2 separate regions of the Homo sapiens genome follow, and region 1 is linked to region 2. Evidence: promoter capture Hi-C in 16 types of primary human blood cells and fetal thymus (Javierre and others, 2016). All regions are on one chromosome and are shown on one strand. Each heading gives the region's core, a stretch centred on a gene start or on the middle of the fragment in contact. The rest is flanking DNA. Distances are from core to core; before and after follow the strand shown. Region 1 has its middle 7.6 kb from the start of KRTAP5-5. Region 2 holds the start of SYT8 (synaptotagmin 8).

The links. Contacts are between HindIII fragments. The CHiCAGO score rates a contact against its expected background, and 5 or more counts as called.
Region 1: a contact is called between a fragment that was not itself captured here and the fragment with the promoter of SYT8 in region 2, in 1 of 17 cell types (fetal thymus). The highest score is 5.1, in fetal thymus.

The regions. Positions count from the first base shown.
Region 1 is chr11:1,635,180-1,639,562 of GRCh38, reverse strand. No RefSeq gene overlaps it. Among named protein-coding and RNA genes, the nearest start is that of KRTAP5-5, 7.6 kb to the right of the region's middle. The HindIII fragment of the contact is 509 bases long and covers 1,422-1,930 here.
Region 2 is chr11:1,832,538-1,836,239 of GRCh38, reverse strand. SYT8 (synaptotagmin 8) reads right to left here and starts at 1,250. Exons shown (of 8, transcript NM_001394072.1): 1 at 1,041-1,250; 2 at 781-944; 3 at 256-354; 4 at 1-114. The coding sequence starts at 1,134. RefSeq lists enhancers at 2,060-2,673, 2,674-3,289 and silencers at 3,392-3,451, 3,512-3,702. The HindIII fragment of the contact is 25,919 bases long and covers 1-3,702 here.

The DNA.
Region 1 (4,383 bases), core at 427-2,926, 200 kb after region 2:
TTTCTCCTTTTCTGCAAGGAATTTCCTCACTTTCTCTTCCCAGCTCAGGAATGAGCCTTAGGAAGAGGCAGAGGTCGAACCATTTGGTTCAAGCAAGGCCCGGGGTCCGAGAGGGAGGCCTAGCTGGAGGAGATTGGGCGTTGGGAGGGGTGGGGGAGACACCGCAGGTGACCGGAGCCCCCTCCTCAGCACAGCCCCTAGCTCAGGCCCCTGAAGCTCTCTGGGTGGAGGCTGCAATCGTTACTATAAAACCATTGTCTTAGAGAGCAGGCGCCTTCCGCCCCTGGCATGGTGCCGAATAGAGATGTGATTTCGCTTTAGATATGAACGTGCACATTTGCAGGAAAACCTAATTATGGGCGTGCCTGTGTTTATACTGTATGAAGGGCTTCTCCATCTGTCGCCGTTCTATTGTTACTGTATCAGGCATTGATGGTTTATTAATACCTTTTCCGCAACATGGAGAAAACAGATGATGTTTTCCCCCGTGTCTGTCATTACTACGGTGAGTGTTTTATTGTTGGTTTGGTTTTTTGTTGTTGTTTTTCTTGAGACGCCCAAGCTAGAGTGCTATGGCGTGATCTGGGCTCACTGCAACCTCTGCCTCCTGGGTTCAAGCAGTTCTCCTGCCTCAGCCTGCCGAATAGCTGGGATTACAAGCACCTGCCACCACGCCTGGCTAATTTTTGTATTTTTAGTAGAGACAGGGTTTTGCAATGTTGGCCAGGCTTGTCTTGAACTCTTGACTTCAGGTGATCCACCTGCCTCAGCCTCCCAAAGTGCTGGGATTACAAGCATGAGCCACCACATGCAGCCTCATTTATGTCTGGTATTATTTACAATATCAGGCACATTTGCTTTCTTGATGTCAACCCTTCGTTGCCACGATGCATCATTGTGCAAATCTGATGCTGGGTCTGATTTGCCAATCTCTTGTTTATTTGTCAGCAGCCTGTGGTGGAGCCCAGCCCAGGGTCGGGGGCGAGAGTGTGGCAGGGTCAGGTGAGGACCCGGGAGGGGTCCGAGGAGCTGGGCCCTGGAGAGGGAGAGAGATAGGCCAGACACAGAAATGGTGGGACTCCTGGTTCAAAAGGTAGCAAAAGGCTGGGTGTGGTGGCTCACACCTGTAACCCCAGCACTTTAGGAGGCTGAGGTGGGCAGATCACGAGGTCAGGAGTTCGAGACCAGCCTAGCCAAAATGGTGAAACCCTGTCTCTACCAAAAATACAAAAATTAATCAGGGGTGGTGGCGTGTGCCTGTAATCCCAGCTATTCCGGACACTGAGGCAGGAGAATTGCTTGAACCTAGGAGGTGGAAGTTGCCGTGAGCCAAGATTGTGCCAGTGCACTCCAGCCTGGGGGAAATAGCAAGACTCTGTCTTGGGACAAAAAAAAAGCAGCAAAAAACCACAGTGAAAGCTTTCCCCTTTAGGAATGATTTTATCACTTACACAATAAATAGGGGTGATAGTGGTGCCAAGTAACAACACCAATTTACAAACTACAAAACAATAATTTTTGGATTCAGAATTTTATATAATAAATAATATTTTATTAATAGGATGTTTATGATTTTTCCAATTTTTTCTGCAAATTCATTTATTAGATCATCAAAATGGATACTTCAGAAATTTCATTTTCGGTTTTGACATAACTGAAAGTTATTTCAGTCTTTTTTGGCAAATGCAAGATCTCAAATAATTTTTGATGACCTTTGAGAAGAATCTTTGTGCTGATACAGCTGTTATTGGAGCAGTAAAGGTATCTTACAGGCTGTGACAACATTAGGATTAGTTTCTGATAAATTGTTTTAAATGATAAATGTCAGCGCATGTAGACCTGGTGATTCTTGTGGAGAAATTTTTTTTAAAAAAATTAATTCTTCAAAGAAATCAGTTTCATGGGAGTCTAAATTATTTTTTAATAAGCTTTATTTTTGGAATTGTTTTAGATTTACAGAAAAATTGCAAAGCAAGTTTCCATACACCTTACACCCAGCTTCCCCCATTATTAGTATCTTACTTCAGTATGGTATGTTTCTTACAATTAGAGAACCAATATTGGGCCAGGCGTGGTAGCTCACACCTGTAATCCCAGCACTTTGGGAGCCTGAGGCGGAAGGATCACTTGAGGTCAGGAGTTGGAGACCAGCCTGGCCAACATGGTGAAACCCTGTCTCTACTAAAATACAAAAATTAGCTGGACGTCGTGGCTGGCGCCTGTAATCCCAGCTACTCAGGAGGCTAAGGCAGGAGAATCGCTTGAACCCAAGAGGTGGAGGTTGCAGTGAACTGAGATCATACCACTGCACTCCTGCCTGGGCCACAGAACAAGACTCTGTCTGAAGAAAAAACTAAACTAAACTAAACTAAAAACTAAATAATGACCAAGTACGGTGGCTCACGCCTGTTATCCCAGCACTTTGGGAGGCTGAAGCAGGCGGATCACTTGAGGTCAAGAGTTCGAGACCAGCCTGGCCAACATGGCAAAACCCCGTCTCTACTAAAAATACAAAAATTAGCCAGGCGTGGTGGTGGACCCCTGTAATCCCAACTATGCAGCAGGCTGAAGGAGGAGAACTGCTTGAACCTGAGAGACAGATGTTGCAGTGAGCCGAGATCACGCCACTGTACTCTAGCCTGGGTGACAGAGCGAGACTCCATCTCAAAAAAAAAATTAAAATAAAATAAAATAGAGAACCAATATTGATACATTATTATTAACTAAAGTCCACACTTTGTTCTTCTCTCATTAGCATTTACGTGCTGGTCCGTTTCTGTCCCAGGGCCCCACCCAGGGTCCCACGTGACATTCCCTTGTCCGTCTCCCTGGGCTCCTCTGGGCGGTGACCGTTTCCCAGGCTCTCCTTGTTGGTGGTGACCTGGAGGGTTCAGAGGACTGCTCAGGTGTTTGTAGGGTGTCCCTTATTAGGATCTGTCTGGTGTTTTCACGATTAGACGGGGCTGTGGATGTGGGAAGGAAGAGCACAGAGGGAGATGCCCTTCTCGTCACCCCATGCTGAGGGCCTGTCCTGTTGGCATGGCTCGTCGTGCCTCGCGGGCTATGCTGCCCCCGTCTCCTGGCTGTGTTTGTGTCTTTCAGGATTCCCCACGGAAAGATGCTCCTGAATTCCCCTGTCCCGTGCTGCATTCTCAGAAGGAGGTCCCAGTGCTGCCTGCACTTAAGGGGTGAGGGCTACACAGAATTAGTGGGAACTCTTCTGCATGGGGGACTTGCCTATCCACTCCCATTTATTTATTTACTTTTATTTATTTACTTCTTTTGGAGACGGAGTCTCGCTCTATTGCCCAGGCTAGAGTGCAGTGGTGCGATCTCGGCTCACTGTAACCTCTGCCTCCCGAGTTCAAGTGATCCTCCTTTATTTATTTACTAAATCACTTATTTCTATCAGTCATGTTCATGGATATCTATTTTACAGTTCGGGTTAGAGTCAATGCTACTCTCTCTATTTATTGTGTTGATCGAATTGTTCTATTTGTAACCCCCAGGAGCGCTTTCTTTTGGCTCACGTGTCCCTACAACGTGCTTCTGATACTTTCCATCACTGCATGTATCGGGGCTTTGCTTTGTTTTCTTTTAGATTTTTTTTTTCTGGAGCTACAAGATGCTCCAGACTCACCTTTATCTTTTTTGCCTCAGTCCTAGAAGTTGCCATGTCTCCAAGGGTCCCTGGTCCTTGGGTTGGAGCCTGGTATTCAACCTCCTGCTGCTGTGGGGTGCCATAGGTTTGGGGCCCTCTTGAGGCAGGAGAGGTTGTCAAGGAAGTGGCCATCTCCTCGCAGCAACCGTAGTGACCACTGGGCCAAGGCAACAAGCCTCCCCATTCATGTTGTCATTGAGCTCATTCGAACAAAGCTATCTCAGGAGGGAATTTCCCCCGTAGAGAGCATGCACATTTTGATTTTACCTGTCCTCACTCTGACCCTTTGCTCCTTATAATAGTATAAAGCACATCCCTGGGTGGAGATTTAAGATGCTAATGAGACATGAATGGTATGAACAAGCGTGTACAGCTACTGCACACATGCACCCAGAGGACCACCCAGAACATGCTTCCTAGCAACACCTCTTCCCAGCTCCTTAGGAATAATCATGGAAGAGTCCCATAAAGGGAGCCTCCCTCAGGCCGGTCTCTGCTTCTCATCCTTGTGAGCAGCCCGCCCTGCACCCTGTCTCGCCCAGGGCATCCTGTCTGTTCTGCACCTCACTTCCACAACATTCTTTCTCCTTTGCAATGAATTCCTCTGTGCTGCATCTCCTGTGTGTCTTGTTTAAATTATTTTAAACTAAGAAGACAAGAACCGAGGTCTCACAACAGCTGTCAACACTCTCCACTGACAGAGCAACAGGACATACGTGTGC
Region 2 (3,702 bases), core at 1-2,500:
GTGCACTTTTGTCTCATGTCTGTGTCCGGCCTGGGTGGAGACGCTGACCCGGGCATAGGGGTCCACGGTGCCCCCAGGCCTCAGGTCGGCTGCCTGCCTCAGGCCCACCCTGATCTGGGAGCCAGCGGGGTGGGCTCAGCCAAGGGCCCCTGCCCTGTCAGCTCCCCACCACCCAGGGCATGGGGTCTGCCCTTCCCCCGTCACCCTTTCCGGAAACTCGCAGAACCGCTGGTCCTGCGCAGCGGGGCCCTTCACCTCCTGGCTTCCAAAGTCGAACTCCAGGGAGAGCTGCAGGCACCCCCATTGCTGAGCATCCCCCGGGCTGGACTCCAGGCCATCCACATCAGGTTGCACCTGGAGTGAGTTGGGACAAGGGGCAGGTGGTGCTGACATCATGCCTCATCAGAGCCCTGGGCTCCCGGGCAGCCCTTGCATGACATGGGTCAAGACCCCCCGCCTCCAGGCCAGGCCACCCAACAGGCACAAATCGTCGGCTTCGCTCTGTGAGACCGGCCAAACCCACCCAAAACGTGGCATCTGGGGTACCCCCTGCCTTCCTCAAGAACCCGCTGTGGCTCCCTCGGGCCCATGGGGCAGCCCCTGTTGCATGGCCTCCTTCTCACCTCTGTTCACCCACTTTCCCTGCCAGGAAGGTCCTCAACGCCCTGCCTCTGTGGGGGTTAAACCATCCCTGGGGCTGAACTCGCCTCGCTGCCCTGGGCTCTGGAGCCTGGATTTCAAGCCCTCTCTGGACTGAGTGAGCAAGGAGCCGCTCCTCACCAGGTGGGTGGTGGTGGTGCCGCGGGCACTGCCCAGACCCACGGACTCCTTGTCCCTGGGCTTCTTCCTGTGGCGGCGGCAGCAGCAGCAGGCAGCACAGAGGAGGCAGGAGACGAGGAGGACGCCCGCGGCAAGGGCGCCGGCAATGAGAGCCCAGCGGGGCCCTGGGGTAGAGGCCAGGCTGAGTGCATCTGTGGACAGCTGCAGCCCCCACTTGGCTGGGTTATCCCCACACCCCTCTTGGGAATCCCACAACTCACAGGGGGTCCCGGCGACAAGGTCTGGAATAAGCCCAGGTATAGCTGTGGTGCCAGCTGGGGCCGGGGCACTGGGAGAGACTGGTGGGTGCCCCATCTTTCTACCCTGCTGGTTTGGAAGAAGCGGCCCAGGAGGCTGGGTCAGCTGGGAGGGTGGCCCCTCCGGCCCCTGCCCGCTACCCCATCTGACTAGCAGCAGCCAGTGCTGGGTCTGCCAGGGCAAGGAGGCAGCACGGGGTGGCCAGGGGCGAGGGTTCTGTGCAGCAGGAAGCTGAAGGGAGGGAGGCTCTGGACCCTGGCCAAAGCTCCAGCTTAGCTGCCCAGGCCCAGCCTCCCAGCCACCTCCCAGCAGCCCCCAGCCCCAGCCAAGCAGGCAGGGCCTGGGCAGCCTAGTCCCTGCCTTCACCGGACCTCAGAGCACCCTTGCCCCCACTGTAGGATGCGTCCTCCACCAGGAAGCTCTCTCCCTCCCTGCTTCTCTCTCCTGGGCCCTGGACCCTGGGCCCTGCCTGGGGGTCCCATCTCATCCCTGGGGGTCTCATCTCTGCGGTCCCATCACTTCCTTGCCTCTACCCCAGCACGCACCACAGCTGGGGCCCACCATGGTTTGCCAGCCATGCAGGTGGAGCATGTTCACTGCAGCCCCCAGGAACTTGGAAGCCCAGAGGGGTCTGCAGGGTCATGGCGGGAGGAGCAGGGCTGGCTGTCGGCGGAGCTCACTGAGCAGGCCTGGGCTAAAGGTGCATTCCTGGCAGGGGCTCAGGGCCGCAGCGCCTGAGGATGAAGGTGAGGTGGTGGCAGGTAGGGGCAGGGTGCAGCTGGGAGCGGCCAGAACATTCCACACACACTGACTCAGCCGCTGCCTGGACTCGTCCACCTGCCTGCCTGGCCACCCTTCGGCATGTGGGTGGGAAGGAAGGTGGGGCGGGCGCAGCTGCTGGCCCCTGTACCCGCCTGCCTAGGGCCTGGGGAGGGAGCACACCTGGCTGGGCTGGCTCCTGTCACCTACAGGCAGGGGAACCAGGGTGCTACATGGGGCCTACGGTGACCCCAGGCCCAGGGTGACTCCCCAGCTCAGCTCTTCCCTGACTCCACCCGCTCCAGAGAGCAGCAGCCAGCCAGGAGACTCTGTTCCTCCACATTGGCGCCTCCCCTGCTTTGCCCACAAGAGCCTGGGACCCCTCTTGCCATGTCCAAGTCAGCCTGGCCTCAGGGGCCCAGCCCAGGCCATCCCATCGGGAATAAGCAGCTGTTGAGGCCAGATACCCTCACCTCTGCAGCCCCCCAGTCTGGGGCAGAGCAAGGAGACAGACAGAAAGGGACCCTGCCATGACTCCAGACACACACACACACACACACACACACACACACACACACACACACACACGCACGCGCACACAGCATCAATGCCCCACTCCCTGGCAGGCTGGGAGAGGCAGCTGCACTCCCAGAACGGACCCAAACCCCCAGTGTTCAGATGAGGGGGCTGCAGCTCAAGGAGGGGAGGGAGGGTCCAGGTTCCAGCCCCACACGCATGTTGACCCTGTGAGGTCAGCAGGCCAGGTGTTTTACAGACGAGTGGACCGAGGCTGGGAGCTCTAGTTTTGTGGCTCTGGAGGCCAGCATGGCCTGGGAAGCCCAGCCTGTCCCCAGAACACAGGGGCCAGCACAATGGAGGGATTATAGGTACAAAAAGGAGATGCGGAGGTCAGGGCCAGCTTTCCAGGCTGCACCCTGTGCGCAGGGCCCCATGCTCAGAGGGGTCCCTGCTTGGTTTAATGCGTGCTGGGGCCATCTTGAAATTCTTAATTTTGGAACAAGATGCTGCACATTTTCATTCTGCACTGGGCCTCACAAATGACGGAGCTTGTCGAGTTCGGGGGACCCTTTGGGTGAGTCCCCTGCAGATGCAGTGTGGGTGTGCAGTGAAGCTCACGGGCCTCGGCAGCCCCTCAGCTCCTGGGGGACACTCCCAGGTGGGTCCGGCGTCCCACACGTGGCTGGCGGAGCGCTCCTACTGGTGGTGGCTGATGGAATGGGCTGGGTCCGCAGGGTCCCTGGAGCGGGACTGTGCCGGCCAGATTCAAACAGGCCACTGCCTCCTCCCTACGTGGAGTTTCAAGGCAACTTCTCTTTTTGAAATGTCAGAGCCTGTATACATGCTGAGATTAAAGTAGCTTCACTCCAGATTTTTATGGTTGAGATTCCGGATAAGTTGCCAATACAGAATCTCCATCTGTGAGTGCGGGCATGTGTGCGTGTGCGTGTGCGTGCGCCCCTCCCCTGTGCCCCCGCTTTGCTGGCGTCCCCCCTCCTTTAGTCTAAGAACAGTCAGGGCCGGGCGGGGAGAGCTCCCCTGCAGTGATTTGCCGCGGCCGGCCAGCGGCACTCCCGGGCCAGCCTGGTGACCTTGTCCCCAGAGGAGCACAGGGGCCACCCAGAAGCTGCTCCGGAGAACCCCAGGACCCTGGGGGCGCTGGCTGCCGATGCTGGGGGTCCCAAAGCCTGGGGAGGTGCGGGGTCCCTCCGGACCGCCGGGACCCCAGGGAGGTGCAGGTGCAGCGGGCGCATGGCCACCAGGTGGCGCCGTCCGCCCCTCGGGACCCGGCCTCCCTCATGGCTCCCGGGGACAGTGCCCTGGAGACCCTTGGGCGCTGGGGGCTCT